Linked DNA regions of Homo sapiens: regions 1 and 2 are each linked to region 3. The links are contacts of gene promoters, found by promoter capture Hi-C in blood cells and fetal thymus (Javierre and others, 2016). All regions are on one chromosome and are shown on one strand. Each heading gives the region's core, a stretch centred on a gene start or on the middle of the fragment in contact. The rest is flanking DNA. Distances are from core to core; before and after follow the strand shown.

Region 1 (3,067 bases), core at 284-2,783, 310 kb before region 3:
TGAGTCACGTACTAGAACCATCTCTAAATCTAGCAAAACAGAGGAGGGAGAAAAAGACTAGTTTGGATACGTAGCCTGGAAAGGTTTCCTGCAGTCCAGGCAGTGCAGGAGGAGGGTGGGTTAGGTTTCAGGGGCCAGTGGAGGAGGGGGCTGCATTTCAGACCAAAAGACCAAGATGAATGAAGGGTATAGATATACAGGAAAGGATCCACATGACCAGGGCATAGGTAAGGGCTGGGAAGTTGTGGGAGATAAAGCTGGGATGGGACAGGGGCTCGCGGCACAGACCAGACCCTAAAAGCAGGCAGAGCACTTGGCCAGGTAGAACCAATTCAGACCCTGGGCTGGAGGCCACAGAGAGCCATGGAAAGTGTTTGAGCCAGGAGAGGAGTCTGGGCCTTGGAAAGACCTTCCAGCATCAGTCCTGTCAGGTTTTGGAGATGATGCAATGAAGAGAGAGGCTACAGGAACCCTCATCCTGAGAGCTCACTGAGTACACGGATCAAGGCTCATTCATCTCAAGGTCACCAGCATTTGCCAGAGTATTAGCCCCTGGAAGGTGACCTGCAAACAACCATCTCTAAGGGAGACCAGCCTTTAACCCAAGGATGATTTCATTCTTAAGGTCCAGGCTGGGCACGGTGGCTCACGCCTGGAATCCCAACAGTTTGGGAGGCCGAGGCAGGCGGATCACTTGAGACCAGGGGTTTGAGACCAGCCTGGGCAACCTAGTGAAACCCTATCTCCACACACACAAATATATATATATATATATATATATATATATCCGAGTGTGGTGGCACATGCCTGTACTCACAGATACTTGGGGGGCTGAGGTAGAAAGATTGCTTGAGCCTGGAAGGCGGAGGTTGCAGTAAGTCAGGATCGTGCCACTGCACTTTGGGCTGTGTGACAGAGCAAGACCTCATCTCAAAAAAAGTAAAATAATTAATAAATAAATAAAACTTAAGGTCCAGAACAGGAAACGTAGGTCATACTCTTGGGACCTTGAGCTTGTTACACTGTGGGGTGGGGATGACCATAGAAATTCCCTTGTGAGATTACAGTGAGACTCACCTGTGATAATGCGTGTTACCTACCTGGCATCTAGGTGAGGCTCAATGTCATGGCAACTCCATTCTACCTGCTTTTCCCAGGGCTTCTGTGACTTTGCACCATCGTAGTAGTCTCTGGAGCCCCTTGAGATTTCCCTTCAATCTCTTCTTGCCTCCTAATTAACAGCAGCATTTATTGAATGCTTTGACCATATTAAAACACTTTGCATATGTGAACTCGTTTGGTCCTACAGTCATGCCTTGATTCATTCTCTAAATTTTTATTTATTTATTTATTTTTTGAGACAGAGTTTTGCTCTTGTTACCCAGGCTGGAGTGCAGTGGCATGATCTTGGCTCACTGCAACCTCCCCACCTTCTGGTTTCAAGCGATTCTCCTGCCTCAGCCTCCCAAGGATTACAGGCGCCCGCCACCATGCCTGGCTAATTTTTGTATTTTTAGTAGAGATGGGGTTTCACCACATTGGCCAGGCTGGTCTCAAACTCCTGACCTCATGATCCACCCGCCTTGGCCTCCCAAAATGCTGGGATTATAGGTGTGAGCCACCGCACCCGGCCCCATTCCCCAATTGAAAGATGAGAAAACTCAAGGGCAGAGCTGGCACATGAGCATAACAGGGACTTGAATCTGATTACTGGCTCAAGCACCCCTCTCCTAACTACTCTTTCTCATGGCCTCCAATGTGTGACTGACCAAGACTCTCCCCTGGCCACTCCATGACCCTCAGGCCACGATCTCCCTCCATAACTCCTTCTCTGACAGTTGAGGGGGCAAATCTCAAGTCTTTGTTCTGAGCCTTGGTCTTCTCCTTTGACCAACATAACCACATGTCCAGAGACCAGTGGGCTAGATCCACATGGACATCTGTCTTCACCTGAAACCCAACCAGCCCCAACTCTAGTCTGAGCCTTGGGCAGCTTGCCCTTGGTCCCTCCACTACAGTACTGAGTTCATTCTCTCCGGAAGTCTAGTTCATCAAGGCCCTGCTGGTTTCCACCCAGGACTGTGGGATCCTGGAGGACAGGCATCTGTCCTCAGGTGCCTCTCACAGCCCCAAGCACAGTAAGTGCTGGACTTACCTCTTCTCTAGCCAGCATCCCTCCCAATTCACCTATTTCAGCTCACAGTGCTACCCTCCATCCCTTGACCCATCCCTCTCCAACAGCTGCCTCATCCCCCAATGGTCCTCTCTGCTCAGAACCACTTTCACCTGCCTCTTAGATTGTTCACTCCCTGACATTCCACCCCACCAACTGCTCCTCCCTGCCCTCCAGCAGGCTCAGGTGAAATCCAACCCCACCCGTTTTTATTTATTTTTTGAGACAGGGTCTCCCTCTGTCATCCAGGCTGGAGTGCAGTGGCACGATCATGGCTCACTACAGCCTCAACCTCCCTGGGTCAAGTGATCCTCCCACCTCACCCCCCCACAAGTAGCTGGAACTAGAGACACGCACTACCACACCTGGCTAGTTTTTTAATTTTTTGTAGAGATGCGGTCTTATCATGTTGCCCAGGCTGGTCTCAAACTCCTGGGCTCAAGTGATCCTCCTGGTTCAGCTTCCAAAGTGCTTGGATTATAGGCATGAGCCACCGCACCCAGCCTACCCCTTGAAATTTAACCATACTCTGTCCCCATTCAAGTTAGTTTCTGTGACTTTCCCAGTGAACTGGAAACTCCTTGGGGGAAGGAACTGTGTCTACTTATTTTTGTCCCCACAACACTGTCCCAGTAACTGGCATATGTTTGAGGACCATTTTAATGTGTGTGTGAATTGTCCAAGTCTTTTCTCTTTTTTCTGTGGAGTATTTCATCCTCTGTCCCTCAATTTTTAAGAGTTCTGTATATATAAGGGAGATTAGCCCTTTGTCTGTGGTATGTGTTACAAATATTTTCTCTCAATTTTTCAGTTACTTTGGTTTCTGTGGTTTGGGTTTTTTGTTTTGTCTGGTTTGGTTTGGTTTGGTTTGCCATGTCCAATTTGCCAGAATTT
Region 2 (2,842 bases), core at 50-2,549, 260 kb after region 3:
CAATTTGCATACTTCTTATTAGCAGCTTAATATTCGTTATACATTTCAAATGCATTTTATAAAAAAAAAGTTACAATTTGACAGGGAAGGAGAATATATTATTTCATATAACCTATAAGGGAGGATTCATATTTCATGTTATTCTGACAAACTGACAATTCTTTTTGAGTGGTGAGTAGACCAAATATCCAATTAATACCATCAGACTAAAAAAAGGAATGAAGAAAAGACCAATGCTGAGTTTTTTGTCTTTTTAATTTCAGACAGAGTGTGGCTCTGTCACCCAGGCTGGAGTGCAGTGGCAGAGTCTTGGCTCACTGCAACCTCCACCTTCCGGGCTCAAACCATCCTCCCATCTCAGCCTCCCAAGTAGCTGCAACTACAGGTGAGCACCACCACACCCAGTTAAGTTTTGTATTTTTGATAGAGACAGGGTTTCACCATGTTGCCCAGGCTGGTCTCGAACTCCTGGGCTCAAGCTATCCGCCTGATTCAGCCTCCCAAAGTGCTGGGACTACAGGTGGGAGCCAATGTGTTCCACTGAATGCCGACAGACTTCTAACAAATGCATCAGCAAGGCAGTACCAGCTGATTAATCAACAAATGAACATAAACACAGTATATCCAACAATGTCACTACTGATCAATTTAATTCATAACTTTCCAGATTTAAAGGTAAAAAAATATGCTTGCTAAAATTTAAATACAGTCTTTATAATGCTAAGCTTGGCATAAGGCACAATCTCCAGATTCTCTTTCTTTTTTTTTTTTTTTTTTTTTTGGAGACACAGTCTCTCAGCCACCCAGGCTGGAGTGGAGTGGCGGGATCTTGGCTCATTGCCTCTGCCTCCTGGGTTCAAGTGATTATTGTGCCTCAGCCTTCCAAGTAGCTGAGATTACAGGTGCCCGCCACCGAGCCCAGCTAATTTTTGTTTTTTCAGTAGAGACGGGTTTTGCCATGTTGCCCAGTCAGGTCTTGAACTCCTGGCCTCATGTGATCCGCCCGCCTCGGCCTTCTAAAGTGCTGGGATTACAGGCGTGAGCCACCGCACCCAGCCTCAGATTCTCTTTTTCTGTTTTCCGCTTTTCCCTCTCTCCTACCTTCTTCCCTCCCAGTCACCCTCCACTTACCTGAGCTGGCTTAGAAAATCTTGGGGTTAAGGCTGTTAGTTTCTGGAGGAACTCACAAGCTTCCTGTAGTTTGTTAAGAGCTTGCAAACCATGAACTGCTCTGCTGAAGTTCCCTGCTATCTCATCTATGACCTATTGGGAACAAAGAAGTTGTCAAAATTACTCATACAAAATTACTGTACTGTAGTAGTCAGGGAGATTATTTTCATCCAAGTTGACCTTGGGTAACTTTATAAACCCTATGAACCACAGCTCTCTAAAACAGTGATTACTTTCAGAAGCTTTTCTGCGAGTGGACAGAATTTATTTCTACTTCTTCCATACGATAGAGAAAATGAATAACGAGATTATATAATGATTGCTCCAAGGGCAAATGAGTCTGGAAATAAGATTTATAGCAGTAACTTTAAGTGTTAAGGCCATGAAGATGAGGGAAACTTGGAAATTAAAAAGCCAAAACCAAACTTTTCTATTCAGAAGTATGTTTTCCTCTCAGGCTTCCCTGTGTGTGTGTTTCCCTCCATTCAAGTATTCGTATTTAAGGCTGGGCGTGATGGCTCACGCCTGTCATCCCAGCACTTGGGAGGCTAAGGCAGGCAGATCACTTGAGGTCAGGAGTTCAAGAGCAACCTGGCCTACATAGCAAAACCCTGTCTCTACTAAAAATACAAAAATTAACCAGGCTTGGTGGTGTACACCTGTAGTCCCAGCTACTCGGGAGGCTGAGGCAGGAGAATCTCTTGAACCCGGGAGGCAGAGGTTGCAGTGAGCCGAGATTGCGCCACTGCACTCCAGCCTGGGCGACAGATCGAGAATCTGTCTCAAAAAAAGAGTCCATATTCAAGAGGTAATGACTTAAAATGACTCATAGCAAGAGGTGGGAAGCAGAAAACCTCCCTGCCCTAAGAAACAGACTGAGCAAATGGCCGCGGTCCCAAAGCTTAAGTGGCTACTGCACTTGAACTCAAAGTCCAACCCTGAGACAATCACCATTAATGCCAACTACATGGTCCATTTCTGGAGAATACCTCACTCACAGCCTAATTCAACCACATATTCAAGAAATCTTGATTAAATGCTGACATTGCTAAATCCTCTTAATATTTCTAATAATTTATTATAGATCCTTTTAGATATTCTGTACTTCAGGATTTCCAAGAAAAACAAAAACAAAAACAAAAATCTTTGTTTAAACTCCTGTAGGTCAGTTTCTCCCCCAAATAGAACACTGAATTTCCATTACCATTGCAAGCAGATCCAGAGTGAACAGGATTGTTTTAGCAGGGAAATGTTCAACTGCATATAAACAGGGCTCGTTTGAGTTTAGGGAAAAAAAAGCATGAGGGAAGCAGGATTATTTTCTTCAGTCAATACTGTCAAAGGGACTTTGCCTTTTTTTGAGAGAGAGTTTTGTTCTGTTGCCCAGCCTACAGTATACAGTGGCACAATCATGGCTCACTGCAGTCTGGACCTCCCAGGCTCAAGCAACCCTCCCACCTCAGCCCCTGCCCCGCCACCCCCAAGTAGCTGGGACTACAGGCACATGCCACCACACCTGGCTAATTTTTTTTTGAAGTTTAATAGAGAAAAGGTCTCATAAAGTTGCCTAAGCTGGTCTCAAACTCGGGCTTACGTGATCCTCCACCTCGGCCTCCCAAAGTGCTGGAATTACAGGCGTGAGCCACTGTGCCTGGCTAATTTTTTTGAACTT
Region 3 (2,804 bases), core at 107-2,606:
GAGAAAGCCCTGCGTACTTCCAGCCCCGCTCCTGTGCCAGGAACCGGCGGCCCTCCGAGCCCTCCGGAGCCGGCCTCCGGGCCCCGAGCGCGGCGAGGCAAGCAGGGGCGGCGAAGGGTCCGGGTGGGCGGCGGCTACCCGCAGCCCAAAGGCGTGGGCCTGCGAGGCGGGCGGCGCGCGGCCAGGGATGGGCAGCAGCGGGGTACCGAGGCGCCGAGGCCTGGACGCGGGCGCGGCGCGGAGGCCTCGGCGTCCCCAGCCGGGTGTGGGGCGGCCGACTGACTGACGCCGGGCGGGGGCCGCCGACTGCCTCAGCCACTGCGCGGGGCGGGGGCGGCAGCGGCCTCTAGCCTCCCTCGTTCCCTCCCTAGTCCGCTTGCCCGCTCGCCCGCTCGCTCGCTCGCTGGTCCATCCGCCTCCTCACCTTCAGGACCCGGATCCCTCCCGGCCGGCGGCTCGCGGGCGCTTCGGGCGGCTCCGGGGGCTCCAGCGGGCCCGCGGGCCCCGGCTCCACCTCCCCCATCGGCGACCCAGGATTCACAGAGACGCCCGGCCCGCGCGACGGCGTGCGGAGCCTCGGCGGCGCGCGCGAGCAACCGGTGGCCCCGCCCCCCGCGGCCCGCCGGCTCCGCCCCTCCGGCGGCTCGCCAGCTCCGCCCCTCCCGCAGCCCCGCTGGACCTAAGCAGCTGCCGGCGCCGAGTGGCCCGGGCGCCACCGAGCCGCATTCCGGCCGCGGCCCGCGTGGCGGAACCTGGCACCACCGCAGAGCGCTGGGCCTCCACTGCCCGCCGCCCTAGGCTTGGAGGACTAGAGCGCAAGGAGGGGTATTTGCTGCTTTCCCCGCCCTCTAAGAAACCCGCGGGAGAAAGAAGCAGGTGGCGCCGGCACCTGTCAATTGTGACAAGACGCTGCCCTCCGCCAGGGTGGCTCTTGTAACTTCCCTCACCTGCCAAGCCGTTGAACGAACTGTTGAGAATACTCACCTTGGCAAGGCCTTTTCTCTTCCTTATCAGAGATGCGTGCGACCTTCTTAAGCAAATTCAACCCAACCTCGTACAAAACGTCCGCTCACCTCCCAGCCATGTTTTAATTCCCTTGCCTCCTCCTGGAGCAAAATTATCAGAATTCGGTGCTCTGCTTCAAGCAGTAATATGGCCTGTGACCCGGTTTATGATTTATTTGCAAGGCTGATTCAGAAAAAAACTTTTAAAAGTTAACTTCTTTTCTTTTCTTTGTTTTGTTTTTCTTTTCGTTCTCGCAGTGATAGTAGTTTTGTTGCCAATGGGCCAAATTTGGAGTCAGCCAGCCTGTTTCCAGATCTCCCCTCTGCCCTTCTTTAGATCTATACCCCTGTGCAAGTTACTTGATCTAAGCCTTTCGTTCTTAAGCTGTGAGAAAGAGATTAAAATCTGCCAAGTAGTTATGATGAAGATTTAGTGCATACAAAGTGCCTAACGTATAGTGGGGATCCATAGTAGCCATTATAATTCCAAAATTCTAAATTGAAGATCCAATCGGTTTCTCGAAAAGTACTCTGTCGATTCCTCCTAAATTTTCCTAGGAAGGCTTCTAGACTTCCAGATTTTTAGGGCTTCCCCTCATACATAGGGTGTTGAATCTTCAAGCAACTTGTAAGGAATTAGACAGCAAAAAACAGTAATTTCTTCACTTTCATAGAACTGTAATTCCAGTACTTTGGGAAGCCAAGGCAGGCAGATTACTTGAGGCCAGGAGTCCGAGACCAGCCTGACCAACATAGCGAAACCCTGTCTATACCAAAAATACAAAAAAATGAGCTGGGCAGGGTGGCGCACGCCTGTAATCCCAGCCACTTGGGAGGTGGAGGCAGGAGAATCGCTTGAACCCGGGAGGCGGAGGTTGCAGTGAGACGAGATCGTGCCACTGCACTCCAGCCTGGGTGACAAAGCAGGACCCTTTGTCCCTATTATCCATTGCTTCAGTTTGCCTCATTCAGACTAACTGTATGTCTAGAATAATTGCAGGCTTAGTACAAGACTTTTAGATTTAACAGAGCAGTCTGTGTCCCCCATCTGAGATATGTATCCATTTGGAGATATTTTAAATGCCAGGACCAAATTTGGCTCTTGCAGGTTCCGACCCCTTTCTGACCTACTTTCTCCCTTCACAAGTTAGCTTTGTATATACCAAAATTCCAATCTCCAGTAATCTTCATTTCTTGGCCTCATTTTAATGCATTAAAAACGATTTGTCACTGTGAGTCTGGTTTAAGGTGGGAGAAAACTCTTAGGTCATCCACCTCCTGGATTTTCCTTCCACCTTGAAATTATTTTCAGGAAAGGTACTCAAAGTAGTTGGATTCCCATTTCAGTGCTTACTGGGTAATTTCTCCCAACAAGAAAACTGGTATATAAGCAATAGGCACCAATATGGAGACAGAAGCAAATTTTAACAAGGGCAGGCAAGCAGTGATAAGAAAAAAATGTGGTTTAGAACAAGTGTTTCTGGCTGGGTGCAGTGGCTCATGCCTGTAATTCAGCACTTTGGGAGGCCAAGACGGGCAGATCACCTGAGGTCAGGAGTTTGAACCCAGCCTGGCCAACATGGCAAAACCCCATCTCTACTAAAAATACAAAAATTAGGCAGTGTGGGGGCACGAGCCTGTAGGCCCAGCTACTCAGGAGGCTGAGGCAGGAGAATCACTTGAACTTGGGAGGTGGAGGTTGCAGTGAGCCGAGATATCGCGCCACTGCACTGCAGTCTGGGTGACAGAGGGAGACTCTTGTCTCAAGGAAAAAAAAAAGTGTTTTTCAAAAGCCTTTTA

Evidence for each region. The method cuts DNA at HindIII sites, captures the fragments that hold promoters and counts their contacts. A CHiCAGO score of 5 or more calls a contact.
Region 1: a fragment that was not itself captured here is called in contact with the fragment with the promoter of PHLPP2 in region 3 in 2 of 17 cell types (naive B cells and total B cells); the score reaches 6.1 in naive B cells.
Region 2: a contact is called between a fragment that was not itself captured here and the fragment with the promoter of PHLPP2 in region 3, in 5 of 17 cell types (total CD8 T cells, total CD4 T cells, activated CD4 T cells and 2 more). The highest score is 8.0, in total CD8 T cells.

What each region holds. Positions count from the first base shown.
Region 1 is chr16:71,413,765-71,416,831 of GRCh38, forward strand. LINC02136 (long intergenic non-protein coding RNA 2136) reads right to left here. Exons shown (of 3, transcript NR_146574.1): 2 at 1,101-1,231. Among named protein-coding and RNA genes, the nearest start is that of LINC02136, 11 kb to the right of the region's middle. The HindIII fragment of the contact is 4,748 bases long and covers 1-3,067 here.
Region 2 is chr16:71,982,905-71,985,746 of GRCh38, forward strand. It overlaps PKD1L3 (polycystin 1 like 3, transient receptor potential channel interacting), which reads right to left. Exons shown (of 30, transcript NM_181536.2): 6 at 1,132-1,263. Among named protein-coding and RNA genes, the nearest start is that of PKD1L3, 16 kb to the right of the region's middle. The HindIII fragment of the contact is 222 bases long and covers 1,189-1,410 here.
Region 3 is chr16:71,723,345-71,726,148 of GRCh38, forward strand. PHLPP2 (PH domain and leucine rich repeat protein phosphatase 2) reads right to left here and starts at 1,357. Exons shown (of 19, transcript NM_015020.3): 1 at 985-1,357. RefSeq lists an enhancer at 1-195 and a silencer at 1-930. The HindIII fragment of the contact is 20,650 bases long and covers 1-2,804 here.